4 separate regions of the Homo sapiens genome follow, and regions 2, 3 and 4 are each linked to region 1. The links are contacts of gene promoters, found by promoter capture Hi-C in blood cells and fetal thymus (Javierre and others, 2016). All regions are on one chromosome and are shown on one strand. Each heading gives the region's core, a stretch centred on a gene start or on the middle of the fragment in contact. The rest is flanking DNA. Distances are from core to core; before and after follow the strand shown. Region 1 holds the start of SIGLEC14 (sialic acid binding Ig like lectin 14). Region 2 overlaps ZSCAN5A-AS1 (ZSCAN5A antisense RNA 1). Region 3 holds the start of NCR1 (natural cytotoxicity triggering receptor 1). Region 4 holds the start of KIR3DL3 (killer cell immunoglobulin like receptor, three Ig domains and long cytoplasmic tail 3).

Evidence for each region. The method cuts DNA at HindIII sites, captures the fragments that hold promoters and counts their contacts. A CHiCAGO score of 5 or more calls a contact.
Region 2: a contact is called between a fragment that was not itself captured here and the fragment with the promoter of SIGLEC14 in region 1, in 1 of 17 cell types (total CD4 T cells). The highest score is 5.1, in total CD4 T cells.
Region 3: the fragment with the promoter of NCR1 here is called in contact with the fragment with the promoter of SIGLEC14 in region 1 in 1 of 17 cell types (total CD4 T cells); the score reaches 7.7 in total CD4 T cells.
Region 4: a contact is called between the fragment with the promoter of KIR3DL3 here and the fragment with the promoter of SIGLEC14 in region 1, in 2 of 17 cell types (total CD4 T cells and non-activated CD4 T cells). The highest score is 7.2, in total CD4 T cells.

Annotation. Positions count from the first base shown.
Region 1 is chr19:51,642,568-51,648,074 of GRCh38, forward strand. SIGLEC14 (sialic acid binding Ig like lectin 14) reads right to left here and starts at 4,258. Exons shown (of 7, transcript NM_001098612.3): 1 at 4,156-4,258; 2 at 3,690-4,073; 3 at 3,215-3,493; 4 at 2,910-2,963; 5 at 1,212-1,469; 6 at 970-1,105; 7 at 1-830. The coding sequence starts at 4,192. The coding sequence ends at 788. The HindIII fragment of the contact is 8,795 bases long and covers 1-5,507 here.
Region 2 is chr19:56,336,625-56,342,131 of GRCh38, forward strand. ZSCAN5A-AS1 (ZSCAN5A antisense RNA 1) reads left to right here. Exons shown (of 3, transcript NR_186830.1): 2 at 1,681-1,881; 3 at 4,162-4,578. It also overlaps a transcript of ZSCAN5A not described here and the pseudogene VN2R18P. Among named protein-coding and RNA genes, the nearest start is that of ZSCAN5A, 25 kb to the left of the region's middle. The HindIII fragment of the contact is 1,625 bases long and covers 2,319-3,943 here.
Region 3 is chr19:54,904,657-54,910,163 of GRCh38, forward strand. It overlaps NCR1 (natural cytotoxicity triggering receptor 1), which reads left to right and starts at 1,492. Exons shown (of 7, transcript NM_004829.7): 1 at 1,492-1,565; 2 at 1,643-1,678; 3 at 1,867-2,151; 4 at 4,589-4,867; 5 at 5,362-5,409. The coding sequence starts at 1,532. The HindIII fragment of the contact is 17,616 bases long and covers 1-5,507 here.
Region 4 is chr19:54,722,377-54,727,883 of GRCh38, forward strand. KIR3DL3 (killer cell immunoglobulin like receptor, three Ig domains and long cytoplasmic tail 3) reads left to right here and starts at 2,066. Exons shown (of 8, transcript NM_153443.5): 1 at 2,066-2,154; 2 at 2,871-2,906; 3 at 3,677-3,961; 4 at 5,235-5,507. The coding sequence starts at 2,121. The HindIII fragment of the contact is 6,556 bases long and covers 1-3,059 here.

The sequences.
Region 1 (5,507 bases), core at 3,008-5,507:
AGTTATGTTGTATTGTTTCATAAAAGTTTTACTTATTTTGTAACAATTGTATTGGATAATAATCACAATGAGGTAGAGTTTTAACTGGAAAACAAATGCTGCCTCTCTGTGCCTATATGGATAGGGAAGCTGAGGAGACCAGAAATTCAAGTGTTAAGAAGGTAACTTTTGGCAGCCAGGCACGGTGGCTCATACCTGTAATGCCAGCACTTTGGGAGGCCAATGCAGTGGATTGCTTGAGGTCAGGAGTTCGAGACCTGGCCAACATGGTAAAACCCCATCTCTACTAACATACAAAAAAAAAAAATTAACTGGATGTGGTGGCAGGCACCTGTAATCCCAGCTACTAGGGAGGCTGAGGCAGGAGAATTGCTTGAACCCCAGAGGTGGAGGTTGCAGTGAACGGAGATTGTGCCACTGAACTCCAGCCTGTGCAACAGAGTGAGACTCTGTCTCAAAAAAAAAAAAAAAAAAAAAAGGTAACTTTTGGGTAATGGGTAATGGGGGTATAAGACCGAAAGTACATTCCCTTCACAGGGCTGGAGATGGTGGATGGAGAGGGAAGAGAAGGGCAGGTGGAGAGGGGATGGGGTGCAGATGGGGATGCAGGTGTGGTGGGGCAAGACTCACAAGCAGAGGGGAATAAGTAGAAGGGGTATGGGGCAGGAAGGAAAAGAGGGGTAGTCAGTGGGATGTGAGCTTCCAGAAAGAAGCTGACAGTGATGTCCTGCATGTGTCCCACAGGGCTAAGTGTCCACACCTCAGTTCTGTCTTGAGCGGGAGGGGCTCAGCCAGGCCTCTCAGCCCTGCTCTGCTGGGGGCCTCCACACCTGCAGAGCCAACATGGGCCTCAGATCAGCACCAGCCACTTCAGTTCTAATTCCAGGTGGGGCTGAGCTGTCCTGGGGCAGGACAGCTCAGCCCCACCTGGAACTCAGGAGCTTCCTGGAGACAGGCAGTCCGGCTCACCTGGTATAGTAGATCCAGGTGAGGCCATAGGTGAGGAGGAAGCCAGCCCCCATGAGAGCCCCCCTGATCAGGGTGAGGACGAGGGGCCAGGAGCCCTGCTGTTTCTCAGTTACACATATGCAGGAAGAGGAGCTTCCTGGGAGAAAGGAGAAGGTAAGGTGCTGTTACCAGGCCTCAGTCCCTCCCACCAACCTGAATACCTCACCGGGCTGTCTACCCTCAGCACCTGTCCTGCAACTCACTCTGCACAGAAAGGATGAAGGACAGGTGCTGGGAGCCCAGCGGATGCTGAACCCGGCAGGTGAATTCCCCTCCCTCTCTAGCTCCTATGTTAGGCAGCTCCAGGGTCCCAGACATTGAGGTCTGGGAAGGATTGAGGGCTTTTCCCTCCCGGAACCAGCTCAGTGAGGCAGGGGGGTTGCTGTCAACTGTGCAGGCGAGGAACAGGGACTGGCCCTCCTGGATGGGCACCGACATGCCATTGCTCAGGATCCGCAGGGCTGGGAAAGAGAAGCACAGCCAGGTGAGTGGAGCTGGGAGGCCCAATTCTCCCTCATTCCTCCCACTGAGCTGCAAGAAGAAAGACAAGACTGTGTGGTGAGTGCTGAGAATGGGCTAGTCATGGGTGAAAGGATGAGGACTTGGTGATCAGGTCAGGCTACCAGAAAGAAGGTGGCTGAGCTGAGAAAAGACAGATGAGGAGGAGTTCTCACATTAAGGAGAAGTGGATGGGCAGCTCAGGTGCAGACGTGCCAAGAACTGAGACAGGCAGACGAGGAAAGAGGCTCCTAGATCCGCAACCTGTCAGGGAGGACCCAGAGCTCCCAAGACACGATAATGGAGGTAGAAGCAGGCTCAGATCTTTTGGAGCATTGGGTGCCAGATTGAGGGCCTTGGGCTTTATCCTGGAAAGCAAGAGGGGGCTATAAGCAAGGGAAACAGAGTTAGCACTGGATCTAGAAAGATCCTGCTGGAGCCAAGTAGGTCCCGGACTGGAGAGAAGTGGGATAGGAGGCAGGGAGGCTGGGAGGAGGCTGGGGCAATGGGCCAGGGTTGAGCACGAGACTTGAGCTGGGCCTGGAACCAAGGGGATGAGGAGGGAAGTGATGATTGGTGAAGTAAAGGTGTTAAGACTTGCGGACTCATGAAACAGCTGATGAGAAAGGGTGCTGTCTACAGCGATGTCCAGAACAGCCCTGGGATCAACAGGGAAGGAGGAGCCGAGAAGCATCCGAGGGAGGTGGCTAAATGTGCAGATCTGTGCCTCAGAGAAAGGGCTGGATATAAAGTTGTGGGAGGCATCAGGACAGGGTCAAGGAGAGATCGGATTACTCAGGAATGTGGAGGGGAAGAACTGGGTTCTGGGACAGAGCTGTGGGAGGTGGGAAAGTCGAAGGCTCCCAAAAAGGACGATCAGTTAGAGATGAAGCAGGGCATGCATCAGAGGACATCGGAGCAGGCAGAAATTCAAGAAAAGGGAACAGCGTGTCCTGAGTACTCAAACTCACAGAGACAGAAAAGTAGAATGGTGACTGCTCGGTGGCAGGAGGGGGAAGTGGAAAGTCGCTGTTCAGTGGGTACAAAGTTTCAGTTTTGCCAGATAAAAGGAGCTCTGCAGTTTGGTTTTGCAACAATGTGAACACATTTAACACTGCTGAACTGTACTCTTTAAAATGGCTAAGATGACAAATTTTGTGCTATGTGTATTTTCTCACAATGAAAAAATAAATCTGAAAAAGAGAGCAGAGAAAAGGGAGAAGCCAAAAGAAATACTAGGTCTGTTCGTGCAAGATCTTAGTGACTGGGATTGGGGGGTTGGGAGCAGGAAGGACCCAGACCCAGGGGCTGAGGGGTGAGGGAGGGTCTCCTCTCCCAATGCTGAACCCTGAGCTAATAGAAGGCTCCCATCACAGCCCCAGAGGGAAGAGGGTCTTTCCTACCTGTGCCTGTGCCATTTCTGAAGAAGATGCTGATGGCGAGGTTCTGTGGAGCATCTGGGATAGAAAGATACAGCACCAGCTTCAGAGGTGACAAGAGGGATGGGCGTGGTCCCGGGAGGGACCCAAGGAGGGGCCACAGAAACCCACCAGGTGGGGACCGCTGTCCTTCCTGCCCACACACGAGTTTTCCCTGGTTATCATTCTCTTTCTCTCTCTCTCTTCTACACACACACACACACACACACACACACCCCCCTCACTCCCACTGCCCTTGGGGACTCAGCTGTGTCCCCAGCACCACTCACAGGAGACATTGAGCTGGACAGTTCTCTCCGTGGTCACCTGAGCTCCTTGGCGTTTCACCTGACAGGTGAGGTTGGTGCCATGGTCCTCGGGCCTGGGGGTGAGGGTGAGCTCCGAGGAGCGGGTGGTCTCGGGGTCCAGGGGGCTGAGGGCATTCCCCGTCCAGGAGAATGTGAGAGGTGGTCCCGCTTCACAGGATCCTGGAAGGCTGCAGCTCAGCCTTGTGGGGCGGCCGGACTCCAGAGGCTCCAGAAAGTGGATGTCGGGTTTCTCTATCAGGGCTGAGGAGGAGACAGGGAGATACCTGGGCCCCAGGGGCTTGAGGACGTAAGGTGTGACCCCGAGAGTGGCCAGGCCTCAGGCCCCGACCTGCCCCAAGTCCTACACCTCCTCCAGCCGCCCCTGCCCAACTCCTGTCCCTGTTCTCATACGGGGGTCTCCACGTCCCAGGGTCCTCTCCTAGGGTTCCTGCCATACCTGTCACCTCCAAGTTCAGCTTATTCTGTTGGTAGCTATATTTTACATCCCTTCCTCTCTCCACGCGGAAGAAATAGCTTCCCGTGTCCTCCATTCTGGCATCTCCGATGCTCAGGGAGCAGTTCTTCTTCTGGACATCCCCAAGGAGGCGGAATCGGCCCTGGGTCTCTGGCTTCACTCTTCTGTCTGGGTTGTTTGTGGCCACAACCTCAGCGTAGTATGGGATCTCCCCGTCCCGGAACCAGTAGACGTAGAGTGGGGGAGAGGAATACCAGGATCTCCAGGGGTAAGAGAAGGAGCAGGGCACAAGGACGCACAGGCCCTCCTGCACCGTCACCGACTTCTGCACTTGCAGCTCGTACACTGGCTTCTCCTGCAGGGACCCTGGGGGGACACAGAAGCTCAGCTGCAGCTCCAGCCCCCCTTCTCACCCCTGTGCCTGTCCCTCCTCCCTCAGCTCACTCACCCCCCCACAGCAGGGGCAGCAGCAGCAGGGGCAGCATGTCTCCATCCGCCAGGGCCCCAGCCCAGTCCCAGGTCCGGCTGTCAGGGAAGGAAATGCTCCAAATGTCCAAACGTGGGGTGGGGCTGAGAAAGCCCCGACAGGAAGCCGGAGGGTGAGTGAGAGCTGTGGACGCGCACAGAAGGGGAACTTGGGCATCACGTGCTGTTGGGGTGAGGCTGGGGCTGGGAAGCCATTCTGCTCCCACCCCCACTGGACGCCGATGGTGAAGATACTGAGGCCCCCAGAGGGGCTTGTCCAGACTTGTAAGTCTAGACTCCTGAGGTCACCAGGTCCCATAGCTGCAGCACTTTCCTTATGCACCTTTGTCTACATAGGAAGGAGAACACCACTTGGCCAGCTCCCTGGGAGTCAGGGCCTCGGGACCCTCAGCGAGATGGGAGAATAAATCCTTTATGACATGATAGGAGCTGTGGTGAGGGAAGCACACGCTGGGGGTTTCAGGTGGGGAAGACTTTCCTCTTTCCAGAGGGAAGGCAAGTTGTCAGGGACAAACACATCAGGTGGACATGACCGGGTCCTTAGCAGTCAAGAGAGATGTGGTCCCCACCACCAGTTGGATTTGGGAACCTCATCTCATCCTTGTCCTTGTCCCAGGCAGCGTCAGACCCCATCCCTGATGTTGACAGCCAGATGAGGCTTGAGAGCCGGGCATTTGAAATGTGAACGTTGAGGATATGGAATACCAAGTGTGAACCCAGACCCCTCACCTACCGGCTGTTGAACTTTACAAAAGTTACCTACCCTCTCTGTGCCTCAGTTTGCTCAGCTGAAAAATGCAGACAATAATAGAATTGCTGTGTGGGGATTCAGTGAGGTCTCATGTGTAAAGTGCTTAGGACAGTGTCTGGCCCCGAGAATTCACTCATTCAACTGATGCTTCATGGGCGCCTATGGTGCACCAGGCCCCCTGTTTTAGGAGCTGGAGATACAGCAAAGGATAAACTCTTAGGATGAGAAGGTAAGTCAAAAATCCTAGTGGGGGCTCCTCTGGGCACACTGCTTATGCATACCCCTGCTCCACGAAGAACAGTAAAAAAAGAAGGCCGGGCGCAGTGGCTCACGCCTGTAATCCCAGCACTTTGGGAGACCGAGGCGGGTGGATCACGAGGTCAGGAGATCAAGACCGTCCTGGCTAACATGGTGAAACCCCGTCTCTACTAAAAATACAAAAAATTAGCCGGGCGTGGTGGCGGGCGCCTGTAGTCCCAGCTACTGGGGGGGCTGAGGCAGGAGGACGGCGTAACCCGGGAGGTGGAGCTTGCAGTGAGCCGAGATCGCACCACTGCACTCCA
Region 2 (5,507 bases), core at 1,881-4,380, 4.7 Mb after region 1:
GAGGAGCTGCATTCCTTTGGAGGAGGAGAGGTGCTCTGATTTTTAGAGTTTCTAGTTTTTCTGCTCTGTTTTTTCCCCATCTTTGTGGTTTTATCTACCTTTGGTCTTTGATGATGGTGACGTACAGATGGGTTTTTGGTGTGGATGTCCTTTCTGTTTGTTAGTTTTCCTTCTAACAGTCAGGACCCTCAGCTGCAGGTCTGTGGAGTTTGCTGGTGGTCCACTCCAGACCCTGTTTGCCTGGGTATCAGCAGCAGTGGCTGCAGAACAGCGGATATTGGTGAACCGCAAATGCTGCTGCCTGATCATTCCTCTGGAAGTTTTGTCTCAGAGGAGTACCCAGCCGTGTGAGGTGTCAGTCTGCCCCTACTGGGGGGTGCCTCCCAGTTAGGCTACTCGGGGGTCAGGGACCCACTTGAGGAGGCAGTCTGCCTGTTCTCAGATCTCAAGCTGCATGCTGGGAGAACCACTACTCTCTTCAAAGCTGTCAGACAGGGACATTTAAGTCTGCAGATGTTACTGCTGCCTTTTGTTTGTCTGTGCCCTGCCCCCACAGGTGGAGCCTACAGAGGCAGGCAGGCCTCCTCGAGCTGTGGTGGGCTCCACCCAGTTCGAGCTTCCCGGCCACTTTATTTACCTACTCAAGCCCCGGCAATGGCAGGCGCCCCTCCCCCAGCCTCACTGCTGCCTTGCAGTTTGATCTCAGACTGCTGTGCTAGCAATGAGCGAGGCTCTGTGGGTGTAGGACCCTCCAAGCCATGTGTGGGATATAATCTCCTGGTGTGCCGTTTGTTAAGCCCATTGGAAAAGTGCAGTATTAGGGTGGGAGTGACCCGATTTTCCAGATGCCATCTGTTACCCCTTTCTTTGACTAGGAAAGGGAATTCCCTGACCCCTTGTGCTTCCCAGGTGAGGCGATGCCTCGCCCTGCTTCAGCTCATGCACAGTGCACTGCACCGCACCCACTGTCCTGCACCCACTGTCCGGCACTCCCCAGTGAGATGAACCCAGTACCTCAGTTGGAAATGCAGAAGTCACCTGTCTTCTGCGTCACTCATGCTGGGAGCTGTAGACTGGAGCTGTTCCTATTCAGCCATCTTGGCTCCACCCGCCCTGTACTTTCATTTATAACTTGCTTGTTTTACTTAACAATGCCTCCTGGAAATTATTCCTTAACAGGTGTGAAGTTTATCTAGTTCTGTGTGTGTGCGTGTGCAGGTACATGTTGCTTTACATCCTGGTCAATATTTAGTGATTACAGATTTGTAAGTTTTTCTTTTATTCTGCAAAGTAATATGCTATTTCGTGGCTTTTTAATTTGCATTTTTGATTACTAGTTAGGCTTAGCATCTTCTTTTTTAAAACTGAAGACTAGTGAAAGTTGAATCCTGGAAGAGGGGAGAGTATAACAAGATAAATCTGTTACTGTGAAAAATTAATTGTGACAACTCAATACCTTCCAATGAGCCCAGAATCTTCTTATTCACTGGATATTCAGGTTTGCTTCTGTAAGTAACTTGCCAATATCTCATTTTTTTTTTGAAACAAGTTGTTTAATATTTATTGATTTTTCAGGAGCACTTTACACAATTAGCTTACAAATTCTCTACCACTAATAAGCATTATAGTCCCTCCTCTTAATCTAAATATAGTATAGTCCTTCTGTTTATGGTTTCTCAGCTTCTTCTTTAGGCATTGAAGACTGTTCCTTTCTGGGTGAAGGAGAATCACGTAGCAATTGGGAGCAAGATGCATCCATGTAACCCAGTACTGGAGGTCAAGATGGAGACAATCTCCACAGCCACCATGGCCTTTCCCTGAGTGCTACTATAACTCAGGAGGAAAGCCACCCAGATACTGCAGAACACCAACATGCTGAAGGTGAGACATTTGGTTTCATTGAAGATGTCAGGCGGGTTACTTTCCAGGAAGACTACAGCAAAGGTCCCCAGAACCAAGAAGCCCAAATAGCTCAAGACACAGTAGAAAACAGTGATAGAGCCCCCATTACACTGGATGATGATTATACCAGGACTATGGGTCTTTGTCTAGGGAGGAAGGAGATGTTTCCAACTAGATTCCAGAGATGGTCACTTGGATGAGGGGGCAAAGGTGACAACAGAATGAGATTTTAGGGTACCCAACAGGACCTTGGGTCCTGGCTGGCCTTGTAGCTTTCCCATCCTGCTAGCTGGCCTTGTAGCTTGGAAGGCCATGACCACAGTGAAAGTTTTGGCTGAAGCAGAAGACACAGCCACTGTGAACTGAACTGAAAAGGTGGCCTGTTCCCAGGGTTCAAAGCATATATGGAAGGAGAAAGCTTGACAGTGACGTAATGTATTTGGAGTGCAAAAATGCCTGCAGGGAATTCATTCTAAATGGGGAGAAATACAGAACAGGCCTTAGGAACAATGTGACCTGGGCATTGTCATCTTTTCATTGTAACTAATTACAGACTGCACTGGATTTGTGAGACATATGACAGCAAACCTTTTCTGTAAAGGGTAATAAATATTTACAGTTTGCAAACCAGAAGGTGTCTGTGGCAACTATTCAAGTCTTCTCTTGCAGATTGAAAGCCACTGTAAGCAATATGCAAAGGAGCAGTTGTAGCCGTATTTAGCAATATGCAAAGGAGCAGCTGTAGCCATATTTAGCAATATGCGAAGGAGCGGCTGTAGCCGCATTTAGCAATATGTGAAGGAGCGGCTGTAGCCGCATTTAGCAATATGTGAAGGAGCGGCTGTAGCCGCATTTAGCAATATGTGAAGGAGCGGCTGTAGCCGCATTTAGCAATATGTGAAGGAGCGGCTGTAGCCGCATTTAGCAATATGTGAAGGAGCGGCTGTAGCCGCATTTAGCAATATGTGAAGGAGCGGCTGTAGCCGCATTTAGCAATATGTGAAGGAGCGGCTGTAGCCGCATTTAGCAATATGTGAAGGAGCGGCTGTAGCCGCATTTAGCAATATGTGAAGGAGCGGCTGTAGCCGCATTTAGCAATATGTGAAGGAGCGGCTGTAGCCGCATTTAGCAATATGTGAAGGAGCGGCTGTAGCCGCATTTAGCAATATGTGAAGGAGCGGCTGTAGCCGCATTTAGCAATATGTGAAGGAGCGGCTGTAGCCGCATTTAGCAATATGTGAAGGAGCGGTTGTAGCCGCATTTAGCAATATGTGAAGGAGCGGTTGTAGCCGCATTTAGCAATATGTGAAGGAGCGGTTGTAGCCGTATTTAGCAATATGTAAAGGAGGAATTGCAGCCATATTTAGCCTGTGGGCCAAGATTTGCCTGCCCTTGCTCTAGATGACTTAGAGAACTCAACACCTGCCCACACTGACCCTTCCAATCTGTTCCTGGGGATTGTCTGATACTACTGTCTTGGGGAAAGTCTGAGCATTTTTCCCCTCCTCCATCCAAACCCAAAATGGACAGAGAAAACTCACTTTGTGCAAAATGGAAATCCAAATGGAAATTGGATTCCATTTGGATTTCCATTTTGCTATGGAGACTCATGCAACCTGTTCTGTGGCCAACTGGACCTAGAAGGATGGTGTTCTCTCAGAATTTGCAGGATAAAGTTACCCAAAGAGTAAACATGAGTTGAATGTCAACTTTCAGAAGGAATCATTTGAAAGCCCCCCTATCATCTTTCTGTCAGCAAAATGTCTCTCAAGGCAGTGCCTGCATTCAAAGTAGCAGTGGAGCCAGCAGGGCAGCTCTCACTGCAGACGGAATGAGAAAACTGGAGGAAGCAGAGTTCTAAGGTTAGATTGTCGGATCTCCAGGAGAACGAAGTTCAAAACCACTTTTCCTTTTCACAATTCTCTTGATTCTTCTCTTAGTATGAGTCAGGGTAGCAGGTCACATCAATGTCATGAAAGGAATACTAATGATAATAATTTAGGATATTTTTGGCTACAGCTAGAGAAATCTCAAACAAACAAGCTTAATCAGGAAAGCTTTTGACACATAGTTGGAAATGGAGGTACTTATGTGTTTCTGAAATCCTGTTTTTATTGGCTTCTCATTGGCTTTTTCATGATGGCAAAATTATACTTAGCTGTTAGAGCCTTCATATCCATGAACTACAATTTCTGTGGAATAAGAAGGAGATATACTGGAACTGAAGCTTTTGGTAACCTCGAATTTTCATTTTGGCAGGCAAACCAAAGAGAAGAAAGACTTTGTGCTTGAGAGTTGAAAATGAGACCACCTTGCCATGTCAATTCAGGTCTCTTAAAGTCTTCCCTTGCAGGAGAAGAGGGAAGTGAAAAGATCTTCTTGTGAACAGGGTCTGGTGTGGACCTCCAGCAAACTCCAACAGATTAATTCATTGACAGAATGGGATTGTCTTGTGAAAGGGAAATATCTTGGATCCCTTCAAGCTGGGAACCCCTCAGGGCAAATCTGCCTACTTCTGTCAATTCATCAATCTCATTCTCCGTCCAGTTTTGTGCCCTTGCTGGAGAGGAGTTGCCATCATTTGTCATACACAAGTATCAATAGCCAAATTGATCACGCAAAAGAAACGATATCAGAGATTGAAGATCAACTTACTAAAATAAGGCATGAAGAAAAGATTAGAGAAAAAAGAATGAAAAGGAACTAACAAAGCCTCCAAGAAATATGAGACTATGTGAAAAGACCGAACTACAGTTGATTGGTGTACCTGAAAGTGACAGGGAGAATGGAACCAAGTTGGAAAACACATTTCAGGATATTATCCAGGAGAACTTCCCCAACCTAGCAAGACAGGCCAACATTCAAATTCAGGTAATACAGAGAACACCACTAAGATACTCCTCGAGAAGAGCAACCCCAAGACAAATAATTGTCAGATTCTCCAAGGTTGAAATATATACAATATATTCAATATAAGCTCTCAGTATTTAAAATTTAGTAGGGCTTGGTGTCATTTTTAGACCCAGGAGTCAAGGCCCTGTAACTCAATGTCACAAGGACTTTAAAAGCACATACAGGAAGATAACAAATGTAATAACCTTCATTAAAAATTTTTTTAACCTCAGTTTTTTCTAAGCAATAAAACATAAAATCTTCTAGGCAGGTTACCAAAAGGCAAAAAAAAAAAAAAAAAAAAAAAAACCCTTCTGCAGTGCACAGAATATTATGTTCAAAGGAAACATTTCCTTTAGACCTTTGAGAAAACACTGTTAGCATCAGGCAACAACAACAACAAAAAACTGGAACCCAAGGAAAACAAACTTATATGACCTGAAAATGAGTTGAAGGAGAGTGTTACTATTTTGTGCCTTTTAAAAAGGGAGAGAAAACCAAAACCCGTGAGATGCAATAAAAGTTGAATTTTGGGTTAAAAATTAAAAAATAAAATATCTTATAATTTATTGAGTAAATCAACCCCTTAAGAAAATTTCATTGTTCTAACCAATTCTTTAGTGTATAAGTGTTTTCTTACATCAAACCCAATCTACAGAAACACTACTATCATTTCTCTTTATAGACAACTTAATCACATAAAAGTTTTTGAT
Region 3 (5,507 bases), core at 242-2,741, 3.3 Mb after region 1:
CGAGTAGTTGGGACTACAGGCATGTGCCACCACACCCGGCTAATTTTGAATTTTTAGTAGAGACAGGGTTTCTGCATGTTGGTCAGGCTGGTCTCGAACTCCCGACCTAAGGTGATCCACCTGCCTCAGCCTCCCAAAGTGCTGGGATGACAGGCCTGAGCCACCGTGTCTGGCCAGTATTTGGTTTTCTGTTTCTGTGTTAACTCGCTTAGGATAATGGCCTCTAGCTGCATCCATGTTGCTGCAAAGGACATAATCTTGTGATTTTTCAAGGCTGTATAGCGTTCTGTGGTGTATACATATCACATTGTCTTTATCCAGTCCACCTCTGATGGGACCTGGGTGGATTCCATGTCTTCACTATTGTGAATCCTGCTGCAATGAACATACAAGTGCATGTGTCTTTTTGGTAGAATGATTTATTTTCCTTTGGCTATATACCCAGCGATGGGATTGCTGGGCTGAATGGTAACTCTGTTTGTAGTTCTCTGAAATATCTCCAAACCAAACTGCTTTCCACAGTGGCTGAACTAATTTACACCCACCAACAGTGTATAAGTGTCCCCTTTGCTCCACAATCTCACCAGCATCTGTTAATTTCTGGCTTTTCAGTAATGGCCATTCTGACTGGTGTGAGATGGTATTGTTGAGGGATAATTTAGGAATCAGAGAGACCGAGGGGTTGAGGAGGATTTATTATTATTATTATTATTTAGGTGCACCGGCCCCAGTCAGATTAACATCCAAAAAGACTGAGGCTCGAACAGAGAGTCCGGTTACCTTTTAAGCATTTTGTGGGGTTGGGGGAGATCTGTGCAGGGGGAAGCATATTACAGAAGCAAGAAACAAAGGCAGTTATTCAATTGAGACATGCATCACATTATTCCTTACTTTTCAAGAAAAATATGTTTTACGACTTGAGGTTATCCTGTCTAGTGACCTTGCAGCCGCACGGCAAGAGAAACAGGGTCTTCACAATGCCTGGGAAAGGGAGAGATAAGGCTCACTAGCCACAGACAGAAAAACAGGCAGTTCATGTTTAAAGGACTCCACCTCTTTCTCTTCCTCGGGGGGAACTGGGTTTTCTTAAATACAACTGAGTTTTTGTTTACACATTCTGTAATTTCTTTTAATTCCTGTTCCAGTATCTCACTGTGAAACTCCCTATGTTTTTATACGATTCTCAGGGGGTTTCCTCTGGGCATGATTGGGCACAACTTCCCACAGTCAGCTCTGGGTACGACCTCCACATTGCAGAATTGAGAAGTTGACCCAGAAATGCATTTTGGGCTGAGCAGACAATTGTCAGAGTTGCTGGCTAGACCACAGATGTGTCAGAGGGACCACGGCCTTTCTGTAAGCTCATGGTCAGAGGCGGAGGGGAGTTGTGAACGTTCTGATGAAAGCAGTCAACGTGAAAGCGCTCTGGTGATGGGCGCTGGTGCTCACCCACCACTTCCTGTGTATCTATCTCCCTGGCCCGCCCGGCTCAGTCCCCACTGCTCAGCACTAGGCCGGCAGAATCTGAGCGATGTCTTCCACACTCCCTGCCCTGCTCTGCGTCGGTGAGTTCTGGCGTGGAAGGGGAATGGGATCACGGTGTGCCTGGGAGGCAACAGGTCTCATTACTCCCGTCTTCCAGGGCTGTGTCTGAGTCAGAGGATCAGCGCCCAGCAGCGTGAGTCCTTCCTTCAAAGCCCAGGGTCACTCTTCCGGATTCAGGCCAAGCTCCTTCCACCCAAGCACGGCTGGGGTGAGGGGACAGGGTGCTGGCTTCCCAGGAGAGCTTGGGGCCAGCAGCTGGGTGGAGCCTAAGGTTGGGGGGAGGGGGCTCCGCTGGAACTCCAGCCTCTGATTCCCTTCCAGAGACTCTCCCAAAACCGTTCATCTGGGCCGAGCCCCATTTCATGGTTCCAAAGGAAAAGCAAGTGACCATCTGTTGCCAGGGAAATTATGGGGCTGTTGAATACCAGCTGCACTTTGAAGGAAGCCTTTTTGCCGTGGACAGACCAAAACCCCCTGAGCGGATTAACAAAGTCCAATTCTACATCCCGGACATGAACTCCCGCATGGCAGGGCAATACAGCTGCATCTATCGGGTTGGGGAGCTCTGGTCAGAGCCCAGCAACTTGCTGGATCTGGTGGTAACAGGTAACTGTCCGGTTCTCTAACTGGAGAGTGATCTCAGTCTGCATCCGGGATGCAGCATCATCTATGAACTCTTCCAAGCCCCACTCAGACACTGCTTGTCTCGGTAGGAGGCTGGAAGGAGGGGTGATCCCCATCACAATCCTTGCCTACAAGGGGTTGTCTGCAGACCGTGTCTCTACGTCCTAGGAGCAGATGTGTCCTCAGTCAGTTTCTCCATGACACAGATTCTGAGATAGATATTTGTATGCAGGGGTATGACTGAGGAATGTCCTCAAAAACAATGCCTGTGGGCCAGGCGCAGTGGCTTACACTTTGCTTCCCTCACCCATCACAGGTGGTGGGTTTTTTTTTTTTTTATCTGTTTTGAGACGGAGTTTCGCTCTTGTCACCCAGGCTGGAGTGCAGTGGTGCAATCTCCAGTCACTGCAACCTCCACCTCCTGGGTTCAAGTGATTCTCCAGCCTCAGCTTCCCAAGTAGCTGGGATCACAGGCACCCACCACTACGCCACATTTTGTATTTTTAGTAGAGATGGGGTTTCACCATGTTGGCCAGGGTGGTGTCGAACTCCTGACCTCAGATGATCCGCCCGCCTCACCCTCCCAAAGTGCTGGGATTACAGGTGTGAGCCATCACACCCAGCCAGGTGGTGGTTTTCTAAAAAAAAAAAAAAATTAGCTTTTTTTTTTTTTTAACAATATGGTTGTTTATTATTATTATCAAGTATTATACATAGTTACATATACATACATAATTGTATGTGCTATACAATTAGGTTTGTTTATACCAGCAACACCAAAAACACATGAGCAATACTTTGTGCTAGGAAGGCTATGATGTCATCAGGCAATAGGAATTTTTCAGTTTCATTATAATCTTATGGGACCACCATCATATATGTGGTACATTGTTGGCCAAAATGTCATTATGCAGCTCACAACAGTATTTCATGTCCATTCAAATATCTTCTTTTGTGAAATGTCTATTTAAATCTTTTGCCTATTTTTAAATTGGGTTGCTTATATTTTGATTGATTAGGAAAAGTTATTTCTATATTCTGTGTCATATACTTGTGTTGAAATATATATATTTTTTGTCTGTGCCTTTTCATTTGCTCAGGGTCTTTGGACCTTGTTTGGAGGTTCTGGCAGGGGAACACAGCTACTCATTTATTCTTTTTTTTTTAATTTTTTTAGTATTTATTGATCATTCTTGGGTGTTTCTCGGAGAGGGGGATTTGGCAGGGTCATAGGACAATAGTGGAGAGAAGGTCAGCAGATAAACATGTGAACAAAGGTCTCTGGCTTTCCTAGGCAGAGGTCCCTGCGGCCTTCCGCAGTGTTTGTGTCCCTGGGTACTTGAGATTAGGGAGTGGTGATGACTCTTAAGGAGCATGCTGCCTTCAAGCATCTGTTTAACAAAGCACATCTTGCACCGCCCTTAATCCATTTAACCCTGAGTGGACACAGCACATGTTTCAGAGAGCACGGGGTTGGGGGTAAGGTCATAGATTAACAGCATCCCAAAGCAGAAGAATTTGTCTTAGTACAGAACAAAATGGAGTCTCCTATGTCTACTTCTTTCTACACAGACACAGTAACAATCTGATCTCTCTTTCTTTTCCCCACATTTCCCCTTTTTCTATTCGACAAAACCGCCATCGTCATCATGGCCCGTTCTCAATGAGCTGTTGGGTACACCTCCCAGACGGGGTGGCGGCCGGGCAGAGGGGCTCCTCACTTCCCAGACGGGGCGGCCGGGCAGAGGCGCCCCCCCACCTCCCAGACGGGGCAGTGGCCGGGCGGGGGCTGCCCCCCAACCTCCCGGACGGGGCGGCTGGCCGGGGCTTTTTTTTTTTTTTTTGAGACAGTCTCGCTGCAGTGCAGTGGTACAATCTCAGCTCACTGCAACCTCTGCCTCAGCCTCAATTCTCCTGCCTCAGCCTCCCAAGTAGTTGAGATTACAGGCATGTGCCACCACACCCGGCTAATTTTTGCATTTTTAGTAGAGACGGGGTTTCACCATGTTGACCAGGCTGGTCTCAAACTCCTGACCCAGGAGGTCGAGGCTTCAGTAAGCAAAGATAGTGCCACGGCGCTCCAGCCTGGGAAACAGAGCAAGACCCTGTATCATTTTTAAAAATGGTTTTAGACGGTAAATCTTCTATTGTGTGTATTTGACCAAAATAATAATTAAAAAAAAAAAAAAAAGCTGGCTGCCAGGCATGGTGGCAGGCCCCTGTAGTCCCAGCTACTTGGGAGGGTGAGGCAGGAGAAACGCTTGAACCCGGGAGGCGGAGGTTGCAGTGAGCCAAGATCGTGTCACTGCACTCCAGCCTGGGCGACAGAGAGAGACTCCATCTCTAAAGAAAGAAAAAAAAAAATAGCTGGCTGCTCATCACTGAGTTTCTGGTGTGGTGGCCCCACCTTCTCTCATAGAAATGTATGACACACCCACCCTCTCGGTTCATCCTGGACCCGAAGTGATCTCGGGAGAGAAGGTGACCTTCTACTGCCGTCTAGACACTGCAACAAGCATGTTCTTACTGCTCAAGGAGGGAAGATCCAGCCACGTACAGCGCGGATACGGGAAGGTCCAGGCGGAGTTCCCCCTGGGCCCTGTGACCACAGCCCACAGAGGGACATACCGATGTTTTGGCTCCTATAACAACCATGCCTGGTCTTTCCCCAGTGAGCCAGTGAAGCTCCTGGTCACAGGTGAGGAAATGCTCAATTCCCCACACCCTTCGCCGCCATGTGCTACCTGGAGCCCTGAGGGATCCCCAGAGAGTGATGGGGAGGGTGTCCAAGGGACGTCCACTTCCTGGGTGCCTGGTTGGTCATGTGAGGAAGAACACCAGAAGCAGGAAGGAGGAGGGAACAGAGAAAGGAATGGTAAGGCGGGTGGATCACAAGGTCAGGAGTTCGAGACCAGCCTGGCCAAGACGGTGAAACCCCGTCTCTACTAAAAATACAGAAATTAGCCAGACGCAGTGGCGGACACCTGTAGTCCCAGCTACTCAGGAGGCTGAGGCAGGAGAATCGCTTGAACCCGGGAGGCGGGGGTTGTAGTGAACCGAGATCATACCACCGCACTGCAACCTGGGCGACAGAGCAAGACTCCATCTCAAAAAAAAAAAAAAAAAAAAAAGAATGGCAAGACCGGAGGAAACCAAAAACCCTTACTTTTTTTTCTTTATCTCCTTTTCCAGGCGACATTGAGAACACCAGCCTTGCACCTGAAGACCCCACCTTTCCTGGTGAGTAACTGGTCCTTCTAAGCTCAGACGAGCGATCAGAGCCTCCCAGTGACACTAAAAACGTGGCATTCATTCAAAATATTCATCGAGGCCAGGCG
Region 4 (5,507 bases), core at 816-3,315, 3.1 Mb after region 1:
AAATTAAAGGCATAATTCAAAACATAATCAATCACATCCAAATTGCAGCTAGAGATAGCAACATTCACCTCACTTCCAGAACAAGTACACAGAAAATTATTAAGCATATGAAAGACTTGAAAAACATTTGTGTAGGCGGCGGGTGCATAAGGTTGGGTGTTGATATGAAACATTTAATAATTTCAATAATCCTAGCACTTTGGGAGGCCAAAATGGGAGGATCACTTGAGGCCAGGAGTTTGAGACCAGCCTGGGCACCATAGTGAGACCCCGTCTCTATTTTTTTTAAATAAAGAAAAACATTTGAATGATTTTTTTCTTAACTGACATTTAGAAAACATCCACCTCAAATCTTCCTAATCCACAAACTTGTCTAGCACCCCTGGAACATTCACCAAAATAAATTTTTAAATGCTGAATCATAGGTAATATGATAGATGAAACAGTTGAATTAAATTATAAATGTACAACAAGGAAATGCTGGGGAAATTATCAAATATTTTAAAATTAATAAACACACATAGCAATAAACAATGAGTGGAAGAAAAACATTTCAAAGAAAGGTGGAAAATATTTTGTATCAATTAAAAATGAAAACACATCTCGGCAAATGACTGGGGATACAGATAGAACAGTGTTAAAGGAAAATAAGCCTCAAATGTCTGTGTTAGAAAAGAAGGAAGAGCTGAGTAAATAGGTAACTTTCGCTTGCAGAAATACTACACATCAGCAAATTAATTCCAAAGTAACGTCGAGGAAAAACATAAAATGGCAAGCAAATATATACGTGCATATGTACGTATATTCATAAATGACAAACAGGACAGAAAAATCAGTGACATCAATTTTGTTCCTTAGAAGAAACAGGAAAATTGACCCCAAAAAACTTTCCAGGCCACATTTGGTCATGATGGAAATATTTTGGCACTTCCTGGTTAAGCTCAACACCAACTTGCACCCAAAACCAATAATTTCATTCCTAGGTAAATATGTCTAATTAATTCAGCATATGTATGCAAGGGATCACACAGAAACACGATTATCAAGGCCCGAGTTATAAAAGAGAAAATCCGGAAACAACACAAATGTCCATGATAAAAAGAGTGGATAATTACATGTTGATAAAGTTATGTATGGACTATTAAACTGCAATCCAAAAGAATAAAATAGAACTATAAAATTCAATATGTATATGGTGTCATAGAAACACAAATGTGAGAAAAAGAAAGAAAAATACAAAATTTATATTTTTTAAAATTTGAAACAACTATATATGTGAGTGCTTAGGGTGTGTGTGTGTGTGTGTGTGTATAACCATATGTATATAAACGCACACATACGCACACATATAGAATGTCCCGGCCAGGCATGGTGGCTCACACCTGTAATCTCAGCACTTTGGGAGGCTGAAGTAGACAGATCACTTGAGGTTAGGAGTTCAAGACCAGCCTGGCCAACATGGAGAAACCTCCTCTCTACTAAAAGTACAAAAATTAGGTGGGCGTGATGGTGGGTGCCTGTAAATCCAGCTACTTAGGAGGCTGAGGCACGAGAATTGCGTGAACCTGGGAGGTGGAGGCTGCAATGAGCCGAGGTCTCACCACTGCATTCCAAACTGGGTGACGAAGTGAGATTGCGTCTCAAAAAAAAAAAAAGTTCTAAAAGTTGTGACTTGGGTGTGGCAGATTGTGACATACTGCCAGCTGCTAGAAATGCTGGGGCAGGAGGATTGCTTGAACTCTGAAGTCAAAGAACAGCCTGGGGAAAATAGCACATGAAGAAGAGTTTGAATCTCAGATAAAAACAACAAAAATACATCAAAAGTCTTTAATGTAAGCCAAGCATTCAGTCATCTCCTGTATGAGAGATTGGATCTGAGACGTGTTTTGAGTTGGTTATAGTGAAGGATGCAAGGTGTCAATTCTAGTTGGAACAATTTCCAGGAAGCCATGTTCCGCTCTTGACCAAACAGCCACTGGGCCTCATGCAAGGTAGAAATAGCCTGCATACGTCATCCTCCCATGATGTGGTCAGCATGTAAACTGCATGAGCCCCTCACAACATCCTGTGTGCTGCTGAACTGAGCTGGGGCGCAGCCGCCTGTCTGCACCGGCAGCACCATGTCGCTCATGGTCGTCAGCATGGCGTGTGTTGGTGAGTCCTGGAAGGGAATCGAGGGAGGGAGCGCTGGGGTGGAGATCTGGGCCTGGAGTGGAGATCTGGGCCTGGAGTGGAGATATGGGCCTGGAGTGGAGATATAGGCCTGGAGTGGAGATATGGGCCTGGGGTGGAGATATGGGCCTGGAGTGGAGATATGGGCCTGGAACTGTAGATATGGGCCTGAAGTAGAGATATGGGCCTGGAGTAGAGATATGGGCCTGGAACTGTAGATATGGGCCTGGAGTGGAGATATTGGCTTGGAGTGCAGATATGGACCTGGAATTGAGATACGGGCCTGGAGGTGGAGATATGGGCCTAGAGTGGAGATATGGGCCTGGAGGTGGAGATATGGGCCTGGAACTGTAGATATGGGCCTGGAGTAGAGATACGGGCCTGGAGTGGAGATGTTGGCTTGGAGTGCAGATATGGGCCTGGAATGGAGACACGGGCCTGGAGGTGGAGATACAGGCCTGGAGGTGGAGATATGGGCCTGGAGTGTAGATATGGGCCTGGAGTAGAGATATAGGACGGAGGTGGAGATATAGGCCTGGAGTGGAGATATGGGCCTGGAGTAGAGATATAGGACGGAGGTGGAGATATAGGCCTGGAGTGGAGATATGGGCCTAGAGGTGGAGATATGGGCCTGGAGTGGAGATATGGGCCTGGAGGTGATGTACAGATGGATCATCCATCATGATCTTTCTTTCCAGGGTTCTTCTTGCTGGAGGGGCCCTGGCCACATGTGGGTGAGTCCTTCCCCCAAACCTTAGGTTGTCATCTCCCCACATAAGATGATGCTCCTGAAACGGGAGGCAGGCGACACAGGGGGTTGACTGATGGGCTGACCATGGGAAGCCATGTGGGAATCTCTCATGAACTAGGAAAAGGAAGCCAGGGGAAGCTTCGCCACAGTTCTGTCCTAGCCCTCCCCGGCCTTTCTTTCCCTTGGCTGAGTCTGTGGGGACCCAGGGGGAGACTGAAGTGCTCAAAGGAGTGGTGTGCAGGGAGGAAGTGGTGTCACCGGCAGAGGAAGGGAGAGAAGCAGTGCAAGGAACAACAGGCCTCTGAGGACAAGAGCATAACTCACACCCTCCAGCGTTTCCATGACGGTAGGGGCTGCAATGTGGCTGCTGTCATTCTACCTAAGAGGTGGGGGAACCACAGTCATGACCCTGACATTCCAGATCTTCTAATAGGGGCTCAGTTGTTTATTATGGTTCATGCATTAGCTGATCATGCCCTCCATCCTGTGTCTACCTTGTGTTCTTTTATGTAAGTAATTTTGCAGTGTTAAAATCTAGTAAGAGTCGCTTCTTCAGCACCTGCTCAAAGTTCTCAGCTGACACTTGCTGTAGGGAGACGCCATGTCTATGCGGGATGGGTCCTTCCTGTAGCCCTGGGCACCCAGGTGTGGTAGGAGCCTTAGAAACGTGGAAATGGGAGAATCTTCTGAGCACAGGGAGGGAGGGGCGGCTCCACATCCTCCTCTCTAAGGTGGTGCCTCCTTCTCCCCCAGGTGGTCAGGACAAGCCCTTCCTCTCTGCCTGGCCCGGCACTGTGGTGTCTGAAGGACAACATGTGACTCTTCAGTGTCGCTCTCGTCTTGGGTTTAATGAATTCAGTCTGTCCAAAGAAGACGGGATGCCTGTCCCTGAGCTCTACAACAGAATATTCCGGAACAGCTTTCTCATGGGCCCTGTGACCCCAGCACATGCAGGGACCTACAGATGTTGCAGTTCACACCCACACTCCCCCACTGGGTGGTCGGCACCCAGCAACCCTGTGGTGATCATGGTCACAGGTCAGAGGCTTTCTGTCTGGGCTTCTCACTGTCCCACCTCCTGAATCCCAGAGCTTCTGGTGGGGGCGTCCATCAGGGTCCAATCATCCAGGCCCCGACTGTATTTGGGGTAAAGGGGGATTCAGTACAGAGAAATAGTTGCTGTGGTGGGAAGAATAATTGTCCCCAGTGATGGCTACATGGTAATCCATGAACCCTGTGACTATTTATGTTATAGGGCAGGGGACTGAAGAGGAAGATGGAGCTCAGGTTGTTGATGAGTTGACCTTGCGATGGGGAGACAGCCTGGACTGTCCTGCTGTGCTCAGAGTAATCACAAGGGTCCTCATGAGAGGAGGAGGAAGAGGAAAGTGGGGTTAGAGCAACGTCGTGGGAGGGAGACTCCATCAGCCACAGCGGGCTTTGAAGATGGGGGAAGGCCATGAGCCACAAAGGCAGGTGGCCTCTAAGGGCTGGAGAAGTCAAGGGAACTGATTCTTCCCTGAGTCTCCAGAGGAAACACAGCCCTGCAGATGCCTTGATTTTAGCCCAGAGAGAACTGGGTCCGATTTCTGTTCTCCAGAAGTGGAAGAGGTCATTGTATTCTCTCCTGCCCCATGTTTGTGACAATTTTCTCCAGCAGCAACAGGAAACCAACACAGGAACCCAGGTGAAGCACAGGTTAAGAAACCAAACAAGGAGAAGGTTGGCTACACTGATTTTAGCATGGGTGGGATACTGATGCTACCACCAGGCTCGATCCACATAGGGAGGGGTTGATGCTCCTGGAACCAGCACCAGGGGCCACCCTATGGAAGCTGGGGCCATGGAGAAGGCACAGACATGAAAGGAGAGGCTCCCAATCCCCATCAGGAACAGGGACACTGATGCCTGCCTTACTGATGAGTTCGTACCTCCTGCCGGCCTTTCCAATCTGTCCAAAAGAGATTGATTCAGGCTGCTAAGAGCCTGGACATGCAGCCTGTCATGGTTCCTCTTCCACCCCCACATAAACACCAGGAAAGAGATTAGTGGGAAACAGATACAACAGCCTAAGAGGTGACACTGAGCACAGTGGGAAGGGAATCAGGGCTACTAGAGACAGAGAGACAGGGAAGAGGGAGGGAGACAGATGGAGGGACCTGCAACAGGGGTTATGGGCACAAAAGAACACGGAGACACAGACAGGAAGGAGAGAGATAGACACCATGGAGGGGAAGCCTCACTTATTTCAGGTCCCATGAATGGGATGAGAAAGGGAGACGCCTTCTGAACTCACAACCTCTCTTCTTAGGAGTCCACAGAAAACCTTCCCTCCTGGCCCACCCAGGTCCCCTGGTGAAATCAGGAGAGACGGTCATCCTGCAATGTTGGTCAGATGTCAGGTTTGAGCGCTTCCTTCTGCACAGAGAGGGGATCACTGAGGACCCCTTGCGCCTCGTTGGACAGCTCCACGATGCGGGTTCCCAGGTCAACTATTCCATGGGTCCCATGACACCTGCCCTTGCAGGGACCTACAGATGCTTTGGTTCTGTCACTCACTTACCCTATGAGTTGTCGGCTCCCA